2 separate regions of the Homo sapiens genome follow, and region 2 is linked to region 1. Evidence: promoter capture Hi-C in human tissues and cell types (Jung and others, 2019). All regions are on one chromosome and are shown on one strand. Each heading gives the region's core, a stretch centred on a gene start or on the middle of the fragment in contact. The rest is flanking DNA. Distances are from core to core; before and after follow the strand shown. Region 1 holds the start of ADNP2 (ADNP homeobox 2). Region 2 holds the start of LOC107985162 (a long non-coding RNA gene).

Evidence for each region. The method cuts DNA at HindIII sites, captures the fragments that hold promoters and counts their contacts. A contact is called where the count stands out against the background at its distance.
Region 2: a fragment that was not itself captured here is called in contact with the fragment with the promoter of ADNP2 in region 1 in 2 of the 25 tissues and cell types used here (lymphoblastoid cells and mesendoderm cells).

What each region holds. Positions count from the first base shown.
Region 1 is chr18:80,106,114-80,113,235 of GRCh38, forward strand. It overlaps ADNP2 (ADNP homeobox 2), which reads left to right and starts at 3,149. Exons shown (of 4, transcript NM_014913.4): 1 at 3,149-3,359. RefSeq lists enhancers at 1,572-2,073, 2,900-3,401 and silencers at 3,211-3,370, 3,571-3,670. The HindIII fragment of the contact is 8,526 bases long and covers 1-5,448 here.
Region 2 is chr18:79,474,845-79,481,966 of GRCh38, forward strand. All of the region lies in intron 8 of NFATC1 (nuclear factor of activated T cells 1), which reads left to right. LOC107985162 (a long non-coding RNA gene) reads right to left here and starts at 6,502. Exons shown (of 2, transcript XR_001753518.2): 1 at 1-6,502. The HindIII fragment of the contact is 5,843 bases long and covers 1,186-7,028 here.

The DNA of each region.
Region 1 (7,122 bases), core at 1,899-4,398:
AGTGTTTAAGGATGGTGTACTGATGTTTTCTAAAAAAAAAAACAGTCGAGATGAATATTTGAATACATATGCGATAAAGCAAGTAAGCAAATGTTAACTGGAAGAGCTAGGTGATGGTTGTTTTCTGAACAATTATTTCAGCTTTTCAGTACATTCAACATTTTCATAGCAAAATGCAGGGGGAAAATCATTCAACATTTAAATTTTATTATATTTATTAGATTTGTATTTATGAAAATGTTGATATTGTATTTATTAAAGTAATGTAGGCATCAGGGATACAATGATGAATGAGACACGGTCCTTACTGGTGCCCCATAGAGAGACAAGCAGTGAGCAGATAACAGTAAACAACGTGGTGAGGGCAGCAGGAGACACACACAATGTTTTGGGAATGTCAAGAAGTACCTACCATATTTTGACTGTGTGTGTGTGTGTGTGTGTGTGTGTGTGTGTGTTCAGGGAGATCTTTCTGGGAGAGAGGCCGGTAGAGTTCAGCCTTGAATGGCAATGGAATGAAAATTAGCTCAGGGGTTGGGACAGGAGTCCCATGAACAAACACCGTGTGGTGTTTACAGGCTGGGGACTGACTGGTCAGCTTTGGAGAATTTGTGTGTCGTGCTCACCAGCTGGGCTTGATTCCTGGGGGATTTTGAGTGATTGCAGCAAGAAGGGAAGGACAGTCAGGTTCACTCTCTAAAAGGGCTGACTGGGGAAAGTACCTGAGGCACCAAGCTGGAGGTAAGGTGGTGGGAGCCTGTGCAGGTGTTACAGGCAGGAGATGACCTGAATGCAGGTAGTGATAGTGCGGCTGCAGATGAGGGAAGAGATCTGACGAATATTTGGGATATAAAATTGGAAAACTGGAGATGGGGAACACACTGCTTGCTGTAGGAGAGGCTGTTGAGGAGAGAATGATGGGCTCAGATTTGAACGTTTTGAATCTGAGTTGCCTGTGGGACTCTGAAGTGGAGCTGCCCCCTTTGGCAGCCAGAAAAATAAAACTGAAACGTAGGAAAGAGATGGAGATACTGGTTTGGAATTGACATAACAAGGTTTGAATCTGTGGTCGAAATTAACAAGGGAGAAAATGCAGAAAAAAATGAAAGGCGTGGGAGTTCCAATACCCAGCACGGTGCCTGGCACACAGGAAGCGAGTGGCGCATATGTGCTGCACCGTGAAGGAAAAAGTCAGCAGGATCCCAGAGAACACCGCGTTCAAGGATGGGCCGGGAAGAGATGCAGGCGAAGATGAGGAAACAGTTCGTGAATATGGAGATGAAAGAGCCCGTCTGGGGAGTAGTGGGTGTGGGGGGGGGCGGCTTTGTGGGGGGAGGTCTGTAGATTAGGAAACAGTTCCCGAGTTTGGAGATTAAAGAGCCCGTTTGAGGAGTAGTGGTGGTGGGGCGGCTTTGTTGCGGGAGGTCTGTAGGAAAGGGGGATTGGTCTGTAGTAACAAATGGAAGATAGATACAGAAAGACGAGGCCTAAAATCTGTTTTGGGCTCAGCAATTAGGAGGGCGCTGGTGACCAAGGCGTTTCTGCAGAGTGGTGAGGGTGGGGGCGAGAGGCGTGCAGGGGGCTGAGGAGACAGACACAGGGACTGCTGTTTTGAGAAATGTGATAAAATGAGAGGTCACTAGAGGATCAATGGGAGACTGCAGGCTTTAACTACACTTTTCATCCCACCCATAATTTTGCAAGGAAGATATATAGGGACATCACACCCATTTACCACTGTAACTCAAAGTAAAATCTTAACTTGTCAGCAAACATAAAGGGCAAACTCTACTTCAATTATGACTTGTATTCATGTAGGAAAAAAGCAAATTTTGGTCAGGTCATATCGGCCCACCATTTAACACAGTTTTAAAACGAATATGGACATTAATTTAGTGCCTATTATGTGTTTAGTCACTGGGCTAAACTGAGCAGAAGGCTCCCATTGAGAGGGAAAAGCTGAAATTATGGACGAGCGGATGGTGACAAGGAGGCTCTGGAGAGGGCGGTGGGCGGAAGGCCCAGCCTGGGCACGGCCTCTGCCCCGCGGTGGCTGGAGTGGGCCTCAGGGCTGGAGGCTGGCGGCGGGTTGCAGGGGCTCGGCGCTCTGGAAGGAGACGTGGCCTTGTGCTGAAAGGGGCACGTGTCCTGCAGACGGCTTCGCCAAGAAGGAACTGCCTGGAACAGCCACTGAGGGCGCGGCTGAGTTAGGGTCAGGGGAAGGAACACTGGAGGGGAGTTAGGGTCAGAGTCAGGGTTAGTGCTAGGTGAGGTTCAGGTGCAGGGTCAGAATTAGGGTTAAGGTTAGGGGCACTGGGGGAGGCGCCTGCGCTGCCCTCGTGGTTACTCCCACGTGCTCTGGGGCACGAGGGCGTCCGCCAGAGGCCTGGGGACTCCACGGAACGAAGACCTAGAGCCATTTTGAAAGCCCTACGCCATGTTTCCACTAATTTTGTGGAATAAATTATTATTGCTACACAATTGATAAACACCTGTGCAAAAATGAACTTTTAGGTTAAGAGTTTATACAAATGTATGCAATTAACCCTCTCCCCACACAACTTGTAGTAGATCTAAAAATCAGAATTCTCAAGAGAAGGTGTGATCACTTTCCCACAGGAATGATGAAGTCAGGAGACCCCAGCTAGTCGGTTCACCAGGATATGCCAATCATGGCACACTTGTCCCAGTTCTGGGAGCCAAAGTTTTGTCTTCCAATGGCAAGGCAGCATTATCACAGTTGGGCTCCCATTGGCTCTGAGATGTGGGCGGGGTCACCACTCCTGGAGCTGCCACTAGCTCCACCCCATTCCATGCAAATGAAGTCAAAGCTGTGGTGAGTCCACGTGATTAGTCACATGGTTGATGACACACTCTCCCCACCCCTTTAGTGACGTCATTGCCCACTCAAACTCTCACGAGAGTTTGCACAGATGTGGAAAGGAGCTGGCAGGGCAGTTCCCTGGGACAGAAGGGAGTCAGGGGGTCCAACAGGGGCCCCCCACTGCCACCCCAGAGCCTCCAGTCCATCTTTAGCCAGGGGCCCCGGGGGGCCTGTGGGAAGTGCCAGGGGCCCCCAAGCACACTCTGCTCTCATTGGCTGGCTGCGCCTACATGCAAATGAGGGCCAACGTCACTTCCTGAGGCCAATCGAGCGCCATTTTCTCTTTCTGGCTGCGCGGGAGGAGGGGACCAGTCGCGCTGGGGGTGGGCGCGCGCTGAGGCGGGGGTCCCGCCGCGCGGGGCGGAGGCGCGGGCGGGCGCAGGCGGCCCCACGGGACGCGGCTGCGCTCGGCGGAAGACGCGGCAGCCCTGCGAGAGGCAGCAGCGGAGACGCGGTGCTCCTCGGGCGCCAAGCGGTAGGTACGGCCCGGCCCGGCGCGGGCCCGCGCGGCGACGCCCCCTGCCCCGGTCCTGGCCCCCGCCCCAGTCTGGTCCCCTCCGAGCCCCGCCCCCGCCGGTACCCAGCCCACACCCACGCCCGCCGCCTGCCCTCGCGCCGCCCGTGGCCGCCTCGGGAATCCCGGGACGTTCTCAGGGCGCGGGTTCGCGGCCCGAACGGCGCCCGTCGACCCCCGACGCGCCCGCGGCCCGCCCCGCCCGCCGCCGGTCACGTGGGAGCGGGGGCCGCCCCGGGAGGGCGGAGAAGGGGATGGGGACCTGAGGGGAGAGTAGGAATAGGGGAAAGACGAGGACGGGGACCGAGGGAGAGAGGGGGGCTGGTGAAGGGAGCGAGGAGTAGAGGGAGAGGGAACGGGGATGGAGAAGAAGAGAGGGGGCAAGGAGCTGTGGCGACCCCTGTAAGGACTCCAGAAACGCCCCGCCCGCTGGCCCGCCCGCCGCATCCCCGAGACCGGGTTCTCCTGGAAGCTTCTCTCTGGAGGAGCCTTGAGTGACGGCAGATGTAGGTCAGGAGCTGACGGTGACACCTAAATCTGCCCAGGTTTTTTTTTCCCTAGAAAGGTTTGAAGAACAGCTGATAACGGGGCCCTGTTTCTTCATCGTTGAGCTTTTGATGCGAATATCAATAATTGATATACAGATGTTGACTTTAACATTACTTTTCATCTGCCGTTGCTGGTTGCATTGAAATAGATTCCGTTTACAAAATTTCTACTACAGTTGACTTTGGAATGTTAATTTTAACTGCCCTTTTAAATACTGTACAGATGCAGAATGAGAAATAATTAGATATTTTAAGTAGTTTATTTGAACAGAAGACTTGCCTGCGTGCTTAAAACTTACTCTATTTGCACGGGTAATCACTGCCTCTTGGGATCTTGAGGAATATACTGGCTGTGGAGGAGTGGGGTGGGGGAGGAGAAACTGGTAAGCAGGTAACTGACAATGCAGATTGGCAAGTGGGGCAGCAGTTTGTAGAGTACTGTGGGCATCTGCCACGCAGAGCCTTTATCAAAAGAGGGGGTTTGGAGTCTGGGTACCATTTTTGGGGGTGAGGAGCATTAGTGGGAGAGAGGACCACATGTAAAAAGAGTTGTGTAAAGTACATGTTCAGCTGTATTTGGAAGTCGGTAATGTATGTGTAACTTATTTAAAGATGTTCTTGGAGAGTTGGCCATGTATGAGTGTGTATTAATATTTCGGTTAAATTTCGGTTGGAGTTAGGACTTCACTGCGAAGACAGCATTGAGCCCGTCGTCCTTAAACATGAAGTGACAGATGTGTGTTAAGAAAGGAAGTACAAGAGTGAAGATGAGACAAGAGGTTGTCCTACCGGCCCTCTAGTTGAGGGGAGGAACAGTGAGGGTTAGGACATGTCTGAAAGGAGTTGATCACTGTTTATGGGGGAAGATGACAGCTATGCTAAGATTTTTAGCTGAAGAGATTCTGGGATTTGGGAGACACGTTTTTAATTTGAACCCAAGTTTGCAATATGCTGTTGGTTAATTTATGATTGCCCTCATAAGTTCACCAATAGCATATTGCAAACTTGGTTTCTGCCCTGCCCTTCATCCTCTGGCTATCCTAGACCTGTTAGGGCAATGTGTTACATAGGTGGAAACCGGTATCTCCCAGTGATTTGAACCCAGATCTGCTGAATATATGATCCAAGTATTCTGTGTTTTTAAAGTTGCTTTTTAAAAAGTCCTGTATTCCAATAGTTGGGACATTTCATTTAGTTTTTTGGAGTTAATTAATAGCAAACTCAGTGCTTATGTGCTGTTTTGCATGTATTAACTCATTTATCCTCATAACTACTCTGTGAATTAGGTCATACTCGCCCTGTTTTACAGAAGAGCCAGCTGAGGCCTGGAGAGAGTAAGTGATTTCCTGAAGATTACACAGCTCATAAATGGTGGAGCTGATGTAAACCCGGGCACACAACTCCAGAATCCTTTTTGGTGACCATCGTTTTGTGCGATTTCACAGGAACTAAAAAAAAGTTCTGTGGCTTAAAAAGTATTGTTTATTACTGTATTACCTGAATGACATTTTTTTTTTTTTTTTTTGAGACGGAGTTTTGCCCTGTCGCCCAGGCTGGAGTGCAGTGGTGTGATCTCGGCTCACTGCAACCTCTGTCTCCCGGGTTCAAGCGATTCTCCTGCCTCAGCGTCCCGAGTAGGACCCAGCCAATTTTTTGGTAATTTTTAGTAGAGACAGGGTTTCACCATATTGGTCAGGCTGGTCTCCAACTCCTGACCTCAGGTGATCTGCCCGCCTTAGCCTTCCAAAGTGCTGGGATTACAGGTGTGAGCCGTTGCACCCGGCCAACATTTTCTTTTAGAATGTATTTTTTTTTCTATAATAGAATATCCTTACGAGATCATTATACTAAAAAATCCCCAGAGAAGTCCTTTATGTACCCTTTTGGGAAATAATATTTTCTTGTGCATATCAGTGGAATTTTATGGTAGTTCCATGCCTACCCTAAACATTAGGAATTGAGATTTATTTTGAATTGAAATTGATAGGTTGGTGCATGATGTGGAAATAGTTGGCCGCCCCGGTTAGCCTGCTGTTTTCTAATGGTGAAAATACAGATTTTACTGAGCTCTAAGATTCTATGGAGAACAGTATCTATAGAGGATCTATAAATATGAAAACATTGAACTATTTCATAGTTAATTCATCCACTGGGCATTTTACATGGAATATTTTATCTTAGGATTGATAAATTATGCTATAAGAATGGATCTAAGAATGAATAAATTGTGGTAGCTTAGAATGGATAAATTATGGGTAAAAGTCAGCTTCCCATCCCCAAAGTGGTTGGCAACAGTTATGAAACCTGTAATTTACTTGCATTTTATTTTTTATCCTTTGTTGGTTTCCCTAAAGCAGTTAGGAAACTGCTAAACAAAAAAAAAAAGGAGGGGGGAACTTTTCCCCCTCCTTTTTTTAAATGAAAAGGTATTTGTGTGCTTGTGTTTTGTTTTGTTTAGAAGGGCCACAATAACGATGAAGGAATGGAAGCACTTTCATTTGAGAATAAAAAGTTCCTATTTTTCAAATTCAAGGGAAAAAAATAAAAAAGTGACAACTCCTTGGCCCTAGTCCCAAGCCTTGAACAAGTAACCACAGACCCCTGCCCAATCTCTGAGAGCCTCATTTTAGTAACCCCTTTCTGAGGTTCATGTATGTACAACCATGCTTACATGAATCAGCCAATCCCCAATCACTCTGCTTTTAAAAGTCCACCAGTCTTTGTATCCCAGGCTTCTCAAAACTCTGTGATAAGATCAGCTCTGGCTGTGTGAGTTGAGATTTTCTTGGAAGCAGTAAATTTAGCTTCCCTGTTTCAGATACATATGGATGATGGTCCCTACTTTAGACAACACTGTTTGTCAGCCAGCTTTTGGAGAAGAACCCCAGAGGATAGAGAGGATAGTGGAACTTTAAGGAGGAAATGAAATCAAGTCTGATAGAGTCCCTGGAAAGCAGCTAACAAAATTTTCGTTGAGTTTTGCTCTGACCAAAGAAGCTGGACTGGGCCAGAAAGTGACCTTGAGCTTAGTGTTTAGAAATGCATAATGAGGTTATGGCAGCTCTTGTGTGAGAGTGTAAGCTTTTGAAGGCTAGAACCCAAATCAGTGCATTTTATTAAAGAAAATTTTTAAACTTAAAATTTTATAAAGAAAATTTTTAAATTTTTATCCTCCC
Region 2 (7,122 bases), core at 2,857-5,356, 630 kb before region 1:
CAACGTAAACCTGAGGGAAGCGTGTTCTCACGCTCACTGTCGACGTTGTAAACCTGAGGGAAGCGTGTTCTCACGCTCGCTGTCAACGTAAACCTGAGGGAAGCGTGTTCTCACGCTCACTGTCGACGTAAACCTGAGGGAAGCGTGTTCTCACGCTCGCTGTCGACGTAAACCTGAGGGAAGCGTGTTCTCACGCTCACTGTCGACGTTGTAAACCTGAGGGAAGTGTGTTCTCACACTCACTCGACGTGAGGGAAGCGTGTTCTCACGCTCACTGTCGACATTGTAAACCTGAGGGAAGCATGTTCTCACACTCACTGTCGACGTTGTAAACCTGAGGGAAGCGTGTTCTCACGCTCACCGTCGACGTTGTAAACCTGAGGGAAGTGTGTTCTCACGCTCACCGTCGACGTTGTAAACCTGAGGGAAGCGTGTTCTCACGCTCACTGTCAACGTTGTAAACCTGAGGGAAGCGTGTTCTCACGTTCACTGTCAACGTTGTGAGGGAAGGGTGTTTTCACGCTCACTGTCGACGTTGCGAGGGAAGCGTGTTCTCACGCTCACCGTCGACGTTGTAAACCCGAGGGAAGCGTGTTCTCACGCTCACTGTCAACGTTGTGAGGGAAGGGTGTTTTCACGCTCACTGTCGACGTTGCGATGGAAGCGTGTTCTCATGCTCACCGTCGACACTGTAAACCTGAGTGAAGTGTGTTCTCACGCTCACTGTCGACGTTGCGAGGGAAGCGTGTTCTCATGCTCACTGTCGACGTTGTGAGGGAAGCGTGTTCTCACGCTCACTGTCAACGTTGTAAACCTGAGGGAAAGGAATTCTCTCTCACATGCTGTGGGGTGCTGGCCCCACCAGGCCTCCCAGGAGACCTCCCCAAAAGTCAGAAGAAGGGCTCCAATTGAAAGGGAGGTCCGAGATGTGCTCGCCAAAACCACCCCCAGCAAGACGCCAGGCATCCTAGCCACCCGACGCTCAGGCCGTGCGTGTCCTCAGAGCGTGTTTTAAAGCAGGAGGGATTTGGGGTGGAAGATTGCTCCTGCAGAAATCAGAGATGAGGGGAGTAAATTAGGGAACCAGCGTCAGGATCCAGACTTCTGTGAAAGAGCCACAGGGCTCAGCATCCGACGGGCGCACCTGGGGCTGGGCGAGTCTGGCTCCAGAAGGGGGGTGGGGCCGGGAGCCTGAGATGGGATGAGAGGGCGGGAAGGGGCTTGTTGAGAAATCTAAGGGCCACGGGCCACCAAAAACAAACCAGGAGGTGTGAGTCAGTGGGGAGGCTGGGTGCCAGGAAGCCTGCGCTCTGGGACATGCGTGGGGCAAGAGGGGCGCCCTGAGCTTGGCGACGCCAGCCGCGCGCCTGGGAGGGATCCGCCTGTCCACGTGCAGCCGCCTCCGGGCGGCGTCGGCCATGCTGCTGCCCCACCGTGGCTCTGTGGCTCCAGCCGGAATGGCAAAGCCTGGCTCCACAGCTGCCTGGGAGCGTGAGTCACGCGCCCCACAGAACACGGCGGGCAGCGCGGGCGAGGATTGGCGAAAGCCGACCGATGTGTTTTGGCTTGTGTGGTCTGTGGGAGCGTCCTTTGTCATCAGCCTAATTGGGCAACAGATCCCACCTCACTGTGCCCTGGAGCAGCACGGGGCCACCACACAGCCTGAGGCCCCACTTGCGCTTCCCCTCGCTGCCGTGCTGTCCTGGCCCCGTCGCTGCCACCTGAGACCCCCATCAAGTACCTGAGCTCTGCGTCTGTTTTCACGCTTCTGTATGTGTAGGAAGCCCCCCACCGATGTTGCTCGGGGTCGACGTGATAAACCTGAGGGAAAGGGAATTCTCTCACCCCGACCGACACACAGGATGGGTGTGGGGGCAAAGTGAGATCATGAACAAAAGCATCTGGGCCCGTCCTGGACACATGGCCAGGGTTAGCCACGGTTGTCAGCCTCCACGGAGCTGCAGTTTCAGCCTGGAGGTCTGTGGCGTGCATGGTTGGAATACTCACCAGACTCACGTGGTCGTGACTCCGGAAGATCATGCCTTCCTGGAAACCTTGGAACGCGCTTCAGCAGAAACTCCAGTGAAGAGTCGGTGAGAGAGCACAAATTCCCAAAGGCGGATGGAGTTCGGAAGGACCCTTCTCTGTCTCCCACATCAGGCGGTGCCTGGTTGGTGCAGATTTACCCCATGGTGGGCCGTGGATCCCTCACCTGCTCTGGAAACTGATCTTGGCTCTGAACAAGGAGAAATGATGCCTCTCAGCCTCGAGGGATGGGTGATAAGGCAGCTTCATCCGCTGTTTTCTTTCATTGTTTGAGAAAAGTCATGCCCCGGAGGTGTCATTCCTGGTTGTTTATGTTGATGGCAAAACTTGGACTTTCTTGTCATACAGCAAACAGAAGACAATCTGATCTTTGTTTTCCAGGGGTTTAGACTTTGAACAAAACCTCTTTTGTCCAGTACTGTAGTGCATCCCTGGTAGAGTAATTCAAGCTGAACACAAGGTTGCATAAAAATGTGGGCATGGGGGAGCAGGGAACTGTCTTGGGATCATTCTTTGCTGTGCACAGCAGCTGCAGCCTGCAGGCAGCTCAGCGTTAGATCTCCCCACCCCCAATGCCACCTGGGGACCAGATGTTACTGTTGGCGGAAGAAGGGGGTCCGGGGCACTGTCTCAGTCTTTGGGGCTTCCATGGTGGAGCACTACCGGCCGTACTGTTGGTGGAAGAAGGGAGTCCGGGGCACTGTCTCAGTCTTCGGGGCTTCCATAGTGGAGCACCACCGGCCGTACTGTTGGCAGAAGAAGGGGGTCCGGGGCACTGTCTCAGTCTTTGGGGCTTCCATAGTGGAGCACCACCGGCTGGGCACCTTGTAAACAACAGACATTGATTTCTCACAGCTCTGGGGGCTGGAAGTCCGAGGTTGGGACTGGTACGGTCGGGTTCTGGTGAGGACCATTCCAAGTTGCAGACAGCCAAAATCCTGCCATATCCTCACATGGCAGGACAGGCGATTTGTCTCTCCCTCCCTGTGGGACGGCAGTCCCGTTGGATCAGGGCCCCACCCTGATGACATTGTTTAACCCCCAGTTACCTCCTGCAAACACCACTCTCAAGTAGAGTCACGCGGACGGGGGTTAGGGCTTCAACATGAGGTTGAGGGGACACGAGTCCGTCCATAGCAGTGACCCCACTTGTCTAAAGCCACAGGGCTGAGCCTGCCCCCTGCCCCCCTGCCTGCCCATCCCCAGGCCCCCGTTCTTGCCCCCAGGCCCCCCCCCGCCCACCCCCAGGTGCTCCCTGTGCTGCAGACAGAGCCCCCGAGGAGCCAGGAGCTGCCGGGCACCAACCACACAGGAAGCCAACAGGTGGGGCAGGCTTGTGCCTGCCACCGTGTTGCTCATGCCGATTTTTATTCTCAGATCTTGTCACCTCTGTCTTGTAGCAGAAGGGGGCCCTGATCTGGGAGCCGTGAAGACCCCAGCTGTCCCCCGGGAGCCAGGCCACACCAAGGCAGCCAAGGGGACTACGTTGGGAGGAGGATGTGGTCCGGGCCATTAAGAGCTGTGATGAGCCCCCAGGTCTGCCCTGGGTGAGGGGCTCTGCCTGCCCTGGGGCTGCATAGACCCGGCTGGGGCTTTAGAACAGGAACCGTTCGAGGGGCTGCGGTGGGTGAAGCCCACTCATGTCCTGGCTCCTGTTACCGGGTAGGGATGGCAGCCCATTTTCCAGGCTTGGGGGTTCTTTAAGAGGCCAGGATTGTGCCGAATGCTCTTTGGCTGACGATGGCCGTGGCGGGGGCTTTGGGAGGGGAGGTCCTGGAGGAGAGGCTTGCCCAGCTCACTGCCTGCGTCTGTGGCCAGAATTGGCACCTGCATGGGGCCTGGAAACGTCGTGCTCACCTGGGGCGGAAGCCCCCCTCCAGGACTCAGCTCCCAACGTCACTGCTACCGAGGCAGAGACTCTGCAGCGGCATCAGAGAGAAGCTGGGCCCCAGAACAGCACCAGGCATGGGACGGGCCCTCCGTGCCTTCCACGGAGGATGCAAGCGTGAGGCCTGGGTCTGCGGGGACGGTTTACCTGTCAGCTCTGCACGCCGCTGACCACTGCGCGCCGCCTCCACAGACAGTCCCCATGGACGCTGGGGCTGCCGTGGACGATGGGGCAGCCATCATGGACAACGGGACTGCCATGGACACCGCAGCCAGCCTGCTCTGTGGGAATATGCTTTGTAAAGCCAGCCGGCCCTGAGGCCAGCACTCGCCTTCCACACTCTGCTCTTTGTAACGAGTTTCATAAACTCACCCTCAGGTGATTGGTGTTTCTGTTGCACCGTTGCTTAGCCTGAAAATGAGCTGCCCTTTTTCTGAGCCCATCCTTTCGCCACCTCTACCCCAGCCCCTCATGGCTGATATCAGGAGGTAGCCAGAGGCCGCCTGGTGCAGGGTGAGCCCGGAACACGGGCAACAGCTTGAACTGGGCCTGTGCGGCCCCCTCCACGGGCGACAGCGTGAACTGGGCCTGTGCGGCCCCCCTCCACGGGTGAGACTCCCAGGCGCTCTTGCAGACGCTCACTCACTTTCTCACTGATAGGATGCGTCTTACGAGGCTCTGATTTACAGAGCAGGCATCCATCTTCTCTGAAACCCACACAAAAAGCACAGTTTAGGCCAAGCCCAGGTGCAGTATGTTCGTGTGTTTAAGCTTCTTAGATGCTGGGGTGTGGAAGCAGCCGTGTGGCTTTCCTTTGCTTGTGAAGGTGAGTTTGCACTTTCCAGCTTCTCTCTGTATTGGGAAGGCTGCAGCTCTCCAGGACATGACTTAGCAGAGAACATCCCGCTGCATCCTCATAGGCCAGCGGGTCAGGCGGGGCCATTCTGAAACGTCCCCTGTGGGTGCCGGGTGCCTCGCGCATCCCTGCCGTCCACCGCCCTTTGTCCCTGGCTGTGCTTCGCGGCAGTGCCCCTTAGGGCAAGGACAGGGAGATGGGGCAGTCGCCTGGGGAAGGCCCGGTCCCGGTGGGAGGCAGCCTCAGAGCAGCTGGGATGGCACAAGACGCCGCTGCCAGGGCTGAGAAACCATCCGGCCAACCCCAGACTTGAGCCAGACTTCATGGGCAAGGCTGGGAGAAGCCGCGTGGAGACCCCAGCCCAGGGAGGGGCACTGTGGCAGGAACAGGGCCCGCACCTGCAGGGTCAGCCCAGGCCACCTTCCAAGCACGGTGACCACGTCGCAGCTCATGCTGCCAGCTCCGGGCCAAGGGACCTGGACTGGCTCTCCAGACTCACAAGATGCCGTCGTGGGTGGGGCACGTGCGGTGATCCCAGGTTTCAAGTAGCTGCCCCCAGCTCCCTGCAAATAGCTCTGGGCGGAAGAGAAGCAGTGGGCAGGCACACGAGTTTATTCCTGAGAGGAGCGTGTTGCCACAGCCTCTGTGGACTGGAGCCCCAGGCTTCAGAAAGAGAGGGAGCGCCTGCCTGTGGGTGGGGGGACAGGAGCTGCCAACCTGGCGGGGTCCCAGCGAAGCGTCCACTGGGCCTTCTGCTTGCCCCTGGGGGTGGTGGATGCATCAGTGCTGGGCCTGCTCCGAACCCGCAGGGCAAGCAGCCCGTGCGTCCCGATGCCACTGCCGGCCGCCAGCATCCTGGGGAGGTGGGTCGCGTGTCCCAGAGCCCTGTGCCCCTCGCCACCACCATCCTAGGTCAGGACTTCCCCAGGAAGAATCCAAGTGGCTGGAGAGATGCGGGGGTTAATGCCGGTACCACCGCGGTTTTAAACGGGGCCGTGTCTGAGCCGTGTTCTTGACGTTCTCCAGCCAGCAGCAGCAGACGCCACCCGGTTGCCCCAGCCCCAGCGGCTCTCGGGCATAGCCGGCCTTGGCCCGTGGGGCGGCTGATTTACAGGACAGCTGTGCACGGGGCCTCTAGTGTCCGCCAGAGCTGGTGGGTGAGAGTTTTTAAAGCGCTCGGGACACTTCACAGAAGAGGCGCACTGGCCCCCATGCCTGGCCATGTTTCTGGGCCCTGGCTGAAAATCCCGAGCAGCGGAGAGAGGATCCCAACAGGGTATTAATTTAACCTTCCAGCCATGTGCTTTTGCTTAAGATCTAAACTCTGAAAATTACCAGCCTAATTTAGAATGGAGGCTTGGCCATTCGGGACACCAGCATCTTCTGAGCGGGAGAGATGTGGGTGCCCACCGGCGTCTCACTCCCACATCTGGGCCTGTTTCCAGTGACCCCTGCACCTCTCAAAGGCGCAGGCCTGAGTTCACAGAGAGCACTTGGCCAAGCCCTGCCTCTGGGGCTCCCCATCGTCTGGCTTTGTCGTGGACTCATCATTTCTGGATTTACCACATGCTTCAAGCTGGAACAGCAGGAAGGGGCAGTTCCTGAGGCCCAGCTGCGTCCGCAGAGCTGGGGGCGCCATGGCCTAAGGCAAGACGCGTGCCCTGGATGAAAATGACTCCAGCTCTGTAGTCTCCAGACAGCGGTTAGAGCCCCACCCTCCACGGACACCGCCTCCTGCCACCCCTTCAAAAAAGTGTTGCAGCCCAGGGCCCAGATATTCAATTTTCTAATGTAAAACGAGGCGGGTAGGGTTTCCCAATCAACATGAGGGCGCCGTGTCCTCTGCAGCCCCCTGACTTGCACAGGCAGTCCTGGGGCTCTGCCCCATCTGTGAACCCTCAGCTGAAGAGGGCAGCCCCAGAGGCAGCCACATTCAGGTGGCTGAAGGCAGAGTCCTCCTCCCAGGAACCGCCTCGGCGCTGCCAAGGCCTGTGCACCTTCTTCAGCCCGAACTAAGGAGAATGTGCGGGACTGAGAGCCATAGACCCTCGTGAGCCAGGCTTGAGCGTTGTCTTCAGATGGGGCCCAGTGGGCCTCACTGTTGTGACGACTGAATGTGACGTCTGGGGTGTAATTCCAGCGTGACCTGGTCCTGGGGTGTCACTCCAGCGTGACCTGGTTCCTGAGGTGTAATTCCAGCGTGACCTGGTTCCTGGGGTATAATTCCAGCGCGACCTTGTTCCTGGGGTGTCATTCCAGCGTGACCTGGTCCTGGGGTGTCATTCCAGTGTGACGTGGTCCTGGGGTGTCACTCCAGCATGACCTGGTTCCT